Linked DNA regions of Homo sapiens: regions 2 and 3 are each linked to region 1. The links are contacts of gene promoters, found by promoter capture Hi-C in human tissues and cell types (Jung and others, 2019). All regions are on one chromosome and are shown on one strand. The core of a region is centred on a gene start or on the middle of the fragment in contact, and the rest is flanking DNA. Distances in the headings are between cores, read along the strand shown.

Region 1 (4,570 bases), core at 1,461-3,960:
AAAAGACACCAACATTTCCTGTAATAATACATGAAAGCATCATTTTTGCTTTTTGTTTTTTCAGTATCCCTGGCATTGTGAATTTATACTTTACATAAGCAATGACATTATGAATACTATATTTATACCTGAGGAAGCCTAGAACTTAAATATTTGCAAATACATCAGATGAACATATGGTTGCCAGTTGTTACTGCTATCTCATTTTCTTTCTGTAAGAAGATGGATTAGTGAATTATAGTAATAAAAAAGCAAGCATGCTTAAGTTAAAGCCTTTGCCTATGATTTAGATAGTTTCTTATAATACATTGGTGTATGAAAGGAAATCAAATTATTTAACTGACTAGATTTTCTATTCATACACAACTATTTCCAGTAAGCACTCCCACAAACTGTTTATATAGTATTAGTTAGAGGATATAATGAAAGAGCAATAAAACAAACTTCTTTATCACTGCACTTAATAAACACCTGAAGTTCCCCAATGCGAACTTTCAGTTATAAATAATTGACTGTATCCACATTTTTCTGAAATCTGATAGACTGTGTCACCTTGCACTTAGCCTATAATGGCACTTAGTTTTTCCTAATTCTTCTCTATGCTTCAAATTTTTAAAAAATCAGTTCTGTTTAACCTTGTGAAGATGCAAACTGGTGATAGAATGGATTTTCTACGCTTTTAAGTAGATAAAAAAGGACATTCTTAATTATTCCAGGTATGTGTTTTACCTCAATCATTCCTTATGCCCTGTATGTCCTGAGAGCAAGGCCCATTCAGCCAAGAAGATATTATTTGAAGTCTTTTGTACATAAGTAAATTGTTTTCTGAAGTCAAATCCCAAAGGGCTTTGCAAAATTTCATTTAGTCAGGTGGGCCAAGAGCAACTACTACTTTCTGTAAGTTCCAATAATCTTTCTGGCCCTATGGGGGCATTTACTCTATGAATTATGCCTAAATACCCTAAGGAAATTGAAACGAGTAATTTCTTTATTTCGCTAGTATTGGTTCAGACCACTCATTATATTAATTCTAAAAATCCTCCTTGGAGGCAGGTTAAGTGGCAGCCTCATTAGTAATGCTGCCCAGACAAGGACAAGAGGCTCTGTGGCCTGCCCAGGGACTGACTGTCAGGCGGCTGGCATCCAACTCCTGACCATGGGCCCATCCATTGGTCCTGAACACCCTAGCCACTGAAACCGCTTTTTAATTGGCTTAAATGGGCTTGTTTATTTTCCACTTTTCTGTTTATTGAAGTAGAAGTGGAAACTGGCCTTCAAAGACCAGTCTATCAGCATCTCCTTCCTTGGCTCGCCTGACCTTCAGGCAGTGCAGCTGCCTGAACTGAGTTAAAAATGGACTGTCAAGCTGGCTTTAATTTCTGCTGCTCTGCGTCCGAATGTCCTCCCACTGATCTGTTTATCACACCCTCTATACCCCTTCTGTTGTTGTTTTTCTAAGAGTTTTATGCCAGGACAGCTGAAACTGCCTTTCAAGGTTCTAACCTGCAAATCCTTCTACACATAATCCTAGAGGGCCTGGGAGCCAACACTGGGATCTCTACTGTAGGAACAACCTTCTCCCTCCAGGCATCCCCTAACGCACCCCAAGCTGACTCTCTGAACAGATCATCTCCTACTGGCACACCAAAGCGAGAAAACCGTGGCTTAATAACTTTGGAAGAAAAAAATCAGGTTTGGCTTCTTGCTCATGGGCTATGCGGGCATGTTGCCTCTTTCCAGGGCTCCTCTGCCTCTCTGTGTGTTCCTGTGCAGGACCGCACGGAGCCCTCACAGGGATTATCTGCTGATCCCCAGCAGAATATAAAACTCTTTATCTTCAGTCTCTGAAACCTCTTCAAAATATCCCAAACCAAAGATCCTCCCAACAGGGCTCGCCAGAAACTTCTGCCTCCGGAAATGACAGTTGCTCTCGATGCACGGATAGAGGAGTACCTAAGATCCTACTAATGGTATTGTGTGTTTCTTGGCAAACTCCCGCTCAATTCAAGCTCCCCGCGCTCTGGGGCAAGGTCTAATTAGAAGAGTGCCAGGCTCACCCTTCCTGCGAAGAAAACGCATTAGCCACAGATGTAAGTGCACGAAGAATGCCAGGGAGCCACGGAGTGCGTGGGGTCATTAAGGCCCTTCTTAAAATGCTGGCGAGCCTTCGATGCGGGAAAGGAAAACTAGATCTGACCGCTTGCAGCAGAGGAGGATACAGAAACCCTGGGAGGCAGAGTAGAGTTGACTGGGTTAGAGGCCAGAAATAAGTGCATAAATGATGCTCAGTGGACGTTGCAACAGATTTAAGCCAAGTGTTCAGGATGACACAGCAAAGCCCCAGGACAAGGAAATGCACAGATCGCTTAAAGCTTCCCGCTGCCGGGAGCAGCCTGAGTGTGAAAGCGCGGACGCTCGGGGAGGGGTCGCACTGAACAATCAGGTTCAGGCTTTGACGAGTCGTGCACCCGGAATTGCGGTCCCAGTGGCCCGAGATCTACCCTGGAAGCAACAGGTGTCCGCTCTACCACAGGCTTATCCTCAACTCCCTGTGGCTAGGCTCGGGCTCCCTGGAAGTGTAGAGGTTGAAAGGGGACCAGACTCTGGAGGGGAGGGGCGGGGCGCTGGCCGGGGAGGGGCGGTGCAGGTGGGCGGGCCTGAGCAGGGTGGGGACTGGACCTATAAAGTTCTCGCTGCCCCGGAGGCTATGCTACTGCGAGGAGCCGGCGCAGGGTGGCCCGGGAGGGGTGAGCAGGGTGCCGCTGGCTGCTGGGGTCTGCAGGTCACCGAGTCCCCAGGAGAGGGGACTCCTAAGAAGCCACCTGCCTGTGTTTACCCGGCAGCGAGCGCGCAGGCCCCCGCGAACTCCTGGCAGGTGAGCGAAGCTGCGGCCTTGGTGGGGGCAGCGGGGCCGGGGGGCGCTCCGCGGGGCAGGTCGCTTCCAAGTTTTGCGAACTGTTGAGTTAGTTTCAGGTTGCGGCTCCGCTCCCAGGGCTTTGTCAAATTGAGTTGCAGAGGCCGGTTCCACCCCTTTGGCAAAGGAGTTCCTCCGCTAGTTCGCTCCCGGGACGCCGGGCATTTTAGGAGCCTCTGCACGACTCGCCTGCTTTTGCAAATCCGTCTCTTCTCGCCTCATTTTTTCCAGCGCTCAGGAAAGGCCGTTGCGCCTCGCGAAGGAAACAGAGCCGTTGACCATGGTTGCAACTGGCAGTTTGAGCAGCAAGAACCCGGCCAGCATTTCAGAATTGCTGGACTGTGGCTATCACCCAGAGAGCCTGCTAAGTGGTGAGTGTCCCCGCTGTCCACCCTTCTCCCCTCCCAAGGTCGGTGCCTCTGGATCTATTGGGTGGGCGGGCTTTCGACTTCCTCCCCTACCTCTATGTAGGAGGTGCCACAAAATCCATCTGAGGAGACTCCTTTCCAAATTTTCTAACATCTTCTCTCCATGATAGAAACAAAAGTAGCAAAAGTAGAATACCCGAGGGCTGCATCTTTCTAGTCTGGTGCCAGTAGGCCCCTTGGGATTAAGTTCCTTATCTTACATGATTGTGAAGAACACAGTTATGTGTGTTTTAGCAAATGTATTTACCCTGTAATCAATATCGCCCCTCCCCCTGAATTCCGACGCACCTATTTGCCAGGTATTCCTCACTCTCCCCTGACTCCAGGGAACTACTGATCTGATTTTTATCATTCCAAGTTAGTTTTGCCTTTAGGTAAGTGGAACCATACAGTAGGTATTCTTTTGTGTCTGGTTTCTTTCCCGCAGCCTAATGTTTTTGAGATTCTTTTATGTCCGTTGCTTAAATCAGTGTGTTCGTGTTTATTGTTTATTACTGAGTAGGATTTTCAGTCGTGGATATATCCATTATTCCATTTTTAATGTGAGAAGGAAACTGTTGAACAGCAGCGGTGCTTGACTTGCTGTCATTTGGAATTTTAACAGCAGTTTCTAGGTGAACACACTGCTCTGACACTAAAGAGCTGTAAGAGCATAGATAAACTGCTTAAGCTCTTCGTGTTTTTCTCCTTTCAAGGTGAAGTGGTTGATGACCTAATTTACAGGCCAGAACTCCAAACTTACACGAAGTGGAGAGGAAAAGCCAGTGGCTGATGAAGGTGGAGTAGGCTTAGAGAGAGGAGCTGGGAGGGCATCTGCCTGCACCTTGTTCATTTGACTCCGTGTGGTGTGGCATCCTGCCAAGGGGTAGGATTAATTTGAGGTGTAGGTGACCAAATGCAGAGCTATCTCTTTTCCTTTGAGCCCAGCTAATTTTATTTCCCTAGGACTATTTTGTTTTGCTTGGCTAAGAAAAACCACCCAGCCGGTTACAAATATCCTCATGAACCTCAAAGGTCTTCTCTGCACAATTTTTAATTAAAGAGGCTAAAGCTAAAATTGGGACCTACAGGCCACTCCAGTAAAGACTTAAAGACACAAATTTGATAGATCTTTAATATAACTCTTAAAGCTTTAATACAACTCTTCAAACATAATAGTAAAAATTCTTTATTTTACAATACATGTATTCCTACAGTTAGAAAGTAACAACCCCTTAGTCCAAAAAAC
Region 2 (4,570 bases), core at 913-3,412, 190 kb before region 1:
GGTTTGTCATAGATAGCTCTTATTATTTTGAGATACGTCCCATCAATACCTAATTTATTGAGAGTTTTTAGCATGAAGGGTTGTTGAATTTTGTCAAAGGCCTTTTCTGCATCTATTGAGATAATCATGTGGTTTTTGTCTTTGATTCTGTTTATATGCTTTGTCTTAACTTTGGATAACCTGATGACAATGTGCCTAGGCGATGATCTTTTTGTGATGAATTTCCCAGGTGTTCTTTGTGCTTCTTCAATTTGGATGTCTAGGTCTCTAGCAAGGCTGGGAAAGTTTTCCTTGATTATTCCCCCAGATATGTTTTCCAAGCTTTTAGAATTCTCTTCTTCTTCAGGAACACCAATTATTCTTAGGTTTGGTCGTTTAACATAATCCCAGACTTCTTGGAGTCTTTGCTCATTTTTTTATTATTCTTTTTTCTTGTCTTTGTTGGATGGGGTTAACCTGAAGATGTTGTCTTTGAGCTCTGAATTTCCTTCTTCTACTTGTTCAATTCTATTGCTGAGACTTTCCAGAGTATTTTGTATTTTTAAAAGTTTGTCCAATTTTTTCTGAATTTTAGATTTTTTTTCTTTAAGCTATCTATTTCCTGAATATTTCTCCCTTCACTTCTTGTATTGTTTTTTGGATTTCCTTGCACTGGGCTTTGCCTTACTCTGGTGCCTCCCTGATTAGCTTAATGACTAACCTCCTGAATTCTTTTCAGGTAAATCAGGGATTTCTTCTTGGTTTGGATTCATTGCTGAGGAACTAGTGGGATTCTGTGGCGGTGTTAAAGAAGCTTGTTTTGTTGTATTACCAGAGTTGGTTTTCTGGTTCCTTCTCACTTGGGCAGGCTGTGTCAGAGGGAAGGTCTGGGGCTGAAGGCTGTTGTTCAGATTCTTTTGTCCCACAGGGTGTTTCCTTGATGTAGTACTCCCCTCTCTTCCTATGGATGTGGCTTCCTGTGAGCTGAAGTGCAGTGATTGTTGTCTCTTTACTGGGTCTAGCCACCCAGCAAGTCTACCTGGCTCTGGACCGGTACTGAGGGTTGTCTGCACAGAGTCCTGTGATGTGAACCATCTATGGGTCTCTCAGCCATGGATACTAGCACCTGTTCAGGTGGAGGTGGTTAAGGGTTGCAATGGACTCCATGAGAGTTCTTAGCTTTGGTGGTTTAATGCTCTATTTTTATGCTTGTTGGCCTACTCCTGGGAAGTGGCACTTTCCAGAGAGCACAGCTGTGATAGTAGGAAGAGGAACTAGTGATGGGCAAGTCCCTAGAACTCCCAAGATTATATGCCCTTTGTCTTTCACTACCAGGGTGGGTAGGGAAGGACTATCAGGTGGGGGCAGGGCTAGGCGTGTCTGAGGTCAGATTGTTCTTGGGCAGGTCTTGCTGCGGCTGCTGTGAGGGATGGGAGTGAGATACCCAAGTCCATGGAGTTATGTACCTGGGAGGAATTTTGCTGCCTCTGCTGAGTCATGCAGGTTGTCAGGGAAGTGGGGGAAAGCCAGCCTCGCCCAGCTTCCATGCAAACCGAAGGGCTGGTCTCACTCTCACCATTCCCCTGCCCCAATAGGCCTGAGTTCTGTTTCCAGGTGGTGGGTGAGCTAGGCTTGAAAATTTGCCCCAGACTACTTGCCTCCCAGCTGCAAAAGAAAGGGGCTTGGTTCTTCCTCTGCCTGTGGAGTCTACACATAGGATTTGTGCCCTCCCCAGAGTTCTGGCCAGGAGGCTTCTCGCCCTGTTCAAATTGTTACAAAGATCAGCTGGAGATTTCCTTCTCCCTATGCAGTTTTCCCCCTCACTCCTCTGGCTGCCCTCCTGATGGATCCCTGTGGTGCCAGGCAGGAATGGCCTGCCTGGGGACCTAGTGAGCTCCCAGAGCCATTCTGCTGCTTTCTCTATCCCTGTATTTCACTTGACTCTCTAAACTGACTCAGTTCCAGGTAAGGTTGGAAGCTCCTCCACACAAACAGACTTTCAGTTTCTGCAGTGAGGGTGTGTGTTCAGGAGAGGAGGCTCTCCCTTTTCCTCTACCGCAGTTGAGGCACTCACAGTATTTGTGGTGTCTCCTGGGTCCTGTAGGAGCAGTTCACTTCCTTCATAGGGTCTGTGGGTCCTCTCAGTATTGCTGGTTTGTTCTTGCAGTCAATCTGAAGCTAAAGTTTACAATGCCATCCTCCGAACCATGCTCTGTCTGTCCCAGTCAGAGTTGCAATCTAGTCCTGCCTCCCGTCCGCCATGATGATCCCTATCCCATGTCTCTCTTTTTTTCTTCTTATTCTAGTTCTCTGTTACAAAATCCCAAAGAACCTGCAAGAAACCTCCAAAGAAGGTACAAGATGGGAAAGGAAAACAAAAAGAAAGGAAAGGAAAGGAAAGGAAAGGAAAGGAAAGGAAAGGAAAGGAAAGGAAAGGAAAGGAAAGGAAAAAAGAAAAGAAAAGAAAAGGTAAGAAAAGAAAAGAAAAGAAAAGAGAAACTAAATGCCAAAGCCTCTATCTTGTTTTAAAAAATAAGGACATTCATAATTCAATAAATTTTAGTCCCATTAAATATCTATTCAATAAATATTTAGCACCTAGAAATAAGTTCCATAAAAGCAAAAATTAGATAAAAATTGATGCTATTAAGAGGCCCTGGTCTAGTGTTGTGAATGTGTCTGTGTGTGTGTGTGTGTGTGTCTGTGTGTGTGTGGTGTTATTAAAATAGTTTCATTTAAATTTTATTAGTACCTGGACTAAGACAATTACCATAAGGGAAGAATAATGAAAACATTGACAGAATTCTATGGTGTTTAAGATATAAAAGATGAGCAAAGGAGATATCCCTTAGATGCTTCCCAGATGACCCACTTAAATGACTGGTTGGATCAATTTTAAAAACATAAGAGAACTGAGAGTGAATTTGATTTTGAAGAAGTAGAGTTTGCAATACATATTTGTTATACACATATTTTGGGTTAAGTGGACTTGTGGGAAGAATTAGATGCCTGGATCTCAGGAGAAATATCCCAACTGGAAATATAGACTTAGAAGTCATCAGCATATATGAGAAAATGTCAAAAAGTTTGTGGAAAAATTGAACTAAAAAATAAAAAGAAAGATATAAACTTTATTTCTCAACATAAGCTCCATCAAATTCAAGACACTTTTGTAAGTGAAGATACTACCATTTAGTCCATCCCTAAAGAACTGAGGGTCCAGGGATTTTACCCATGTCAATGCAGTCTTTTTCACATTAATAATGAAGGAAACCTGAGTGACATTTAATTTTTTTTTAAGATTAGGAAACAAAAAGAAGTCAGAAGGAGCCAAATCAGAACTGTAAGGTGGATGTCTAATGAATTTCCATTGAAACTCGCAAAATTGCCCTTTTTGAAGGAGCAGGAGCATTGTTGTGGTGGAGAAGGGCTCTCTGGTGAAGCTTCTTTAGTTGTTTTTCAGCAAAAGCTTGGTTAACTTTCTCAAAACACTCTCATAATAAGCAAATATTGTTGTTCTTTAGCTCTCCAGAAACTCAACAAGTGAAATGCCTTTAGCATCCTAAAAAACTGTTGCCATGACCTTTGCTTTTGACCAGTTCACTTTTGCTTTGGCTGAACCATTTCCACCTCTTGGTAACTATTGTTTTGATTGTGATTTGTCTTTGGGATTGTACTGGTGAGCCATGTTTCATCTCCTGTTATAATTCTTCGAAGAAATGCTTCAGGATCTTGATCCCACTTGTTTAAAATTTCCATTGAAAGCTCTGCTTTTGTCTGTAGCTGATCTGGGCCCAATGGTTTTGGCACCCATCGAGTGGAAGTTTGCTCACCTTTAATTTTTTCAGTCAGAATTGTGTAAGCTGGGCTGTTGTCTATTCTTTCTGCTGATAATTGTCAGTCCTCTTTAATTAGGGCATGAACAAGATGAACTTTTTTCCTCATGAATTGATGTGGATGGTCTGTCCCTGTGGGTTTCATCTTTAACATTGTCTCATCACTTTTTAACATTAGTTATCCATTTGTAAACTGCTGATTTATTTGGGGTACTATCCTCGAAGGCTTTTTATAAAGCATCAGTGATTTTCACCATTCTTTCACCCAAGCTTCACCTAAATTTGATGTTTGTTCATGCTTCAATCTTAGCAGAATTCATATTGCCTTGATAGGGACACTTTTCAAACTGATGTCTTAACCCTCTTAATGCCTCAAACTAAATCCTGTTCAGACATGTTATAACAAGTTAGTATAATTTTTTTTGGTGCAAGAGAAATTGAAATTCATACATAGTTTTTTCATAGTATGCATTTTTCGTGAACTTTTTGAAGACCCCTCGTACATGGTGATTGAAGAGTTGCAGGAAGAGTTCACATGGTGACAATAAAACAGTGAAAACACCAACACTTAAAGGATCGGCAGAAGGAAAATTTAAAAATTGAATGATAATGGGGTAGAGAAGAACCGAGAGAGAATTAATGAAGGTGAGAGTTTTCTCAATTGAACATTCTATTTCTGATAGTCAAACATGTGAGTTCCTTAGGAATCAAACACCAAACACCACATGTTCTCAGTTATAAGTGGCACCTAAGCT
Region 3 (4,570 bases), core at 888-3,387, 160 kb after region 1:
CAGACCATTCAGGAATGAAGGTTTGGGTCACTCCACCAAGAAAAAAACCATGACCTGCTAAGGTGCTTGATGAAGGCAAAGGAAATACGAATGAGTAGCAGAAGAAGGTAGGAAAAAAACCATGATCTGCTAAGGTGCTTGATGAAGGTAAAGGAAATACGAATGGGTAGTAGAAGAAGGTAATCATCAATGGCCCCGTGACCAGTTGCAGAAATGGAGACTGTAATTGTCATGAGTATTTCCTCCTTCTTTTGTTAAAAACATGTGTGTGCATATATACACTTGTACTAAGAAAATAACTTCATTTTATTTCCTTTTTCGTTTATCATGTGACATAAGATTTATTTACTTCATATCAGCATTCGAGCATCATTAACTTTATGTAAGAGTATTTGGGTTGGGGAGTGGTGCATTTCTGGCTGTATGAAGGATAGTTGCATTATGTTAGGCATAATTATGAGCTTATTATTGCTTTTATTTGAAGATTATGTATGATCTCAGGAGATGTGTATCGGTTAAAGTTGACAAGGGGTGGACTTGTGATGGTTAATACTGAGTGTCAACTTGATTGGATTGAGGGATGCAAAGGATTGATCCTGGGTGTGTCTGTGAGGGTGTTGCCAAAGGAGATTAACATTTGAGTTAGTGGGCTGGGAAAGGCAGACCCACCCTTAATCTGGGTGGGCACAATCTAATCAGCTGCTGTCGCAGCTAGGATAAAAGCAGGCAGAAAAATGTGAAAAGGCTAGATTGGCTTAGCCTCCCAGGCTACATCTTTCTCCCATGCTGGATGCTTCCTGCCCTTAAGCATTGGACTCCAAGTTCTTCAGCTTGGGGACTCAGACAGGCTTCCTTGCTTCTCAGCTTGCAGATGGCCTACTGTGGGACTTGAGATCATGTTAGTTAATACTACTTAATAACTCCCCTTTATATATAAATATCTATCCTATTAGTTCTGTCCCTCTAGAGAACCCTGACTAACCCCCAGTCTCTACTGAAAATAAAAAAAAAATTAGCCGAGCATGGTGGCACATGCCTATAATCCCAGCTACTTGGGAGGCTGAGGCTTGCTTGAACCCAGGAGGAGGAGGTTGTAGTGAGCTGAGATCACGCCACTGCATTCCAGCCTGGGTGACAGAGGGAGACTCTGTCTCAAAAAAAAAAAAAATGTTTTTCTTACTTGAAACAAGTACAGTACTTTTAAAAAAATTAGTTGCGTATTTGTTTCAATCAATTCATCAGCTTTTCCAAATATTAATATAATTATACTCTTTTCTCCAAACTATACAGGCAATCAAAATGCTGGAAAGGACTATCTGGGAATGTTAGAAATTCAATAACACGTAAACTGACCCTTAAGCACTATTTCCAATTGCTGAAACATAAATGTAAATTGCTAGTACTTTCCAGTAGAATTTTTACCAAAGATAGAATCGATCTATATTTGCACTGTCCAGTACAGTAGCCAGTACTGGCTATTGAATACTTGAAATGTAGACAGTGCAACTATGAACTAAAATTCTGATTTTATTTAGTTTTAATTCATTTACATTTATATGGCCACATTGTGGCTGTTGGCTACAATATCGGAGAGTGCATATCAGTCACCCCAGGAACTTATTAAAATGAAGATTCTACTTCAGTGGGTCTGTGTTAGAGCCTCAGAGACTGCATTCCTACCAAGTGCCCACCTGGCGATGCCAATGCTCTGGGTGTACGGACTATACTCCCAGTGGCAAGCACTTCAGCCAAGTGCAGTTAATCACCAACGACACTTTGCCACTTTGGAACCATGTCACTCCCTTCCTGATTCTCAAAGGTGTTTCTTCTGTTGTCAGGTGAACTTTATCAGAATATCGATTTTAAGCTTTAGAATATGTTCCTGAAATGCCTTCTTCTGCTGGTTCATGTTTACTTTATTAACCATTATAGACTTCTGGAGTAGTTTGAGCTGGCAGCATATTACACTCACCTAGGAATCATTTTCTGCTCATTTAAATCAATCTGGAGCTGGGCATCAGCATTTTTCAGAAGCTCCCCAGGTGATTCTAACATGTAGCCCAGTTTGTAAATTTCAAATTAGTGTATGTTTTATAGTCAAGAGCTCAAAACCTTAATAACCAAAGTAACGTTAACACAGAACATTGTTAATAAACTTATTGATATTCTGAATCTTGACCTAGATTGGTCCACGTTCCCCAGTTTGGCTCTTTTGAATCTAATCTGCTCTTTGCTTACATTGTGTAGACTGTTTTAAAATGCATTGGCCCCGCCCTCTCCATAGCTCCACCAGTACTCCTACCTCATCACCAAGTGGAAAAAGTAAAAAGGGTACCAAGACTTTAATATTAAGATCTCTAGCTTATTTTTGCTCTAGGGAAAGAGCACCAAAATTATAAGGTTTTCTATTTCAGCATAGGTTGAGCATCCCTAATCAGAAAATCTGAATCTGAATGCTCCAAAATCTGAAAGTTTTGGAGCACCAACATGACCCTCAAAGAAAAATCTCACTGGAGCATTTCAGATTCTGAATTTTCAGGTTAGGGATGCTCAACCAGTTAGTATAATACAAATATTTCAAAATAAAAAAATTAAAAAAAATCCAAGATCCAAAACACTTCTGGTCTCAAGCATCTCGGATAAGGGATGCTCAACCTGTACTTTCTGAACAGGTAACTCTGAAGCTTTGCTTTTGGGCAGATGTCATCATCTTACCTAAACCAATGCATTGCCTTCTCTTCATCCTTCACTACACCAGCTCCTAGGTAAACAAAAGATATTATATTTTTAAAAACGGACTCAATTAACTGCTTAATGCTAAAACCTATAAGCCTACAGATATATTAGGTTGGTGCAAAGTTAATTGTGGTTTTTGCCATTACTTTTAGAACTCTAACCAGCAAATCTCTCCCCACCTCTTTTCCCCCAGTGGAATAGCACCAGAGAAACAAAGTTACCTTACTTTTCACGTATCTTTGCCTAACAATATGCTGAGCACTGGGGTACCCAAAATGAGCATAAAAATGTGCCACATGGAAATGAAAGCTCTGGGAATACAGCCACATGTAAAGGAGAGAGATCATGGCTCCCACTGTGGCCAGGAGCTACAAAAAAGAAAAATGAGACAGGAGGAAAAGCATGGGAATCTACTACTTCAGCTATGGTTCAGATATGAAAGAAATGAGTATATTCTATGAGAAAAGCATTCCAGGATGAATTTCACATGATTTAAAGAGGAAGTGTATCCTTCAATGGCCTCTGTTGGGCAAAAAATCTTTATTGTCACTAGTCTTTTATTTTAAGACAGTCTTATATGTACTTTTCCTAGGTGATACAAGATAACTGGATTGCATAATTAAATGAATTGGATGCTGATCAATAGGATCTTGACAGTTTGTAAAAGAAAAACAACTGATGCAGAAGCAAAAGCGGAAGTGAAAAAAAGAATGTATGTGTTTGTTGTTTAGGCAGGGACATGGTGAGGGGCTGAGATTTGGAGCAGAGAAAAATTCCTGTCCTGCTCTGTTGCAGTCTGGAGAAGCCACAATCCTGGCCCATTTTCCCAATATCTCCAGCTGCTTCTATAGAAATGACAGACCCTCAGACTGCACTTCCTCAGACTGCTTCGTTCCTAAAGAGGTCTTGGCAAGCCAGTGGGTCCACAGAAGATGAAGGAAGATGAGATCTCACAGCCCAAACCATAGCCTGAGCTGACAATATGAGGATAATTCCTAAAAGAACCAGGGCCTTAGCAGGAGCTTTGTCATCACCCTTCTTAGCAGTTTGAGCATGCTGTCTACTTCTCTTCAGGAAGCCCTCTTTTCCCATCATGAGAAGCTTGTAGCTCAATGGATTGATGCCCAGAACAAGTTGACATTGTCCAACCTAATCAGCATGGGCATTAGCATTTCCAGAGACTTGGCAGATACCCTCTGAGATGTCAATTCATACAGCTGTCCATGGCTGACAGGGAAATAAATTCTGTGGGGCAACTATGAAATACAGCAAGACTGCAAACTGCACTAGCACCATGGAAAGCTCAGTAGCCTTAACCCATCATCTGGGCATGCTTGGCTGGCTTCTAAGGAGGAGCTCATAATCTGGAAAAAATACAGTGGGGTTGACCATTTTCCCTTTCAGGTGCAATGTATTTCTAAGAGAAGAAAGGAATGCTGCATCTACCCCAAAAACCCAGGTCTCTTGTGCTGTCATGAAGGGTACAGATCTATCATTGACTCCAAGACCAAGAACTGAACTTGAAAATTGGTGATTATTGGTGGTTATACATAACCACATATGACAAAATCTGTATGACAGTCTTTGTGTTTATGTGTATATATATTAAATACTAATAATATTCTTTGTATATTGCTGAATTTTTGTTTGCTTTTTGGTGTATGTTTGGTAGGACTGTTCTAATTTTTTTCTTCCTATACAGTAATCTCTGGATTCTGTTTCATGAATACACTACAGCCTTTTACAGTAATTCTGTATGTTACAGGGTTTCATAGCAGATGGATGTCTGTTTTTGAGATTCCTCAAATCTTTTCTGAAATGATTGCATTTATTC

What was found. Contacts are between HindIII fragments. The study calls those that stand out against the background at their distance.
Region 2: a fragment that was not itself captured here is called in contact with the fragment with the promoter of DDIT4L in region 1 in 2 of the 25 tissues and cell types used here (adrenal gland and bladder).
Region 3: a contact is called between a fragment that was not itself captured here and the fragment with the promoter of DDIT4L in region 1, in 2 of the 25 tissues and cell types used here (mesenchymal stem cells and mesendoderm cells).

Annotation. Positions count from the first base shown.
Region 1 is chr4:100,188,608-100,193,177 of GRCh38, reverse strand. It overlaps DDIT4L (DNA damage inducible transcript 4 like), which reads left to right and starts at 2,710. Exons shown (of 3, transcript NM_145244.4): 1 at 2,710-2,875; 2 at 3,146-3,285. The coding sequence starts at 3,195. DDIT4L-AS1 (DDIT4L antisense RNA 1) reads right to left here and starts at 3,145. Exons shown (of 5, transcript NR_125924.1): 1 at 3,104-3,145; 2 at 129-212. The HindIII fragment of the contact is 5,141 bases long and covers 113-4,570 here.
Region 2 is chr4:100,376,800-100,381,369 of GRCh38, reverse strand. No RefSeq gene overlaps it. Among named protein-coding and RNA genes, the nearest start is that of SNORA101A, 16 kb to the left of the region's middle. The HindIII fragment of the contact is 3,210 bases long and covers 558-3,767 here.
Region 3 is chr4:100,023,473-100,028,042 of GRCh38, reverse strand. It overlaps H2AZ1-DT (H2AZ1 divergent transcript), which reads right to left. Exons shown (of 4, transcript NR_125923.1): 2 at 2,716-2,761. Among named protein-coding and RNA genes, the nearest start is that of H2AZ1-DT, 75 kb to the right of the region's middle. The HindIII fragment of the contact is 5,131 bases long and covers 1-4,570 here.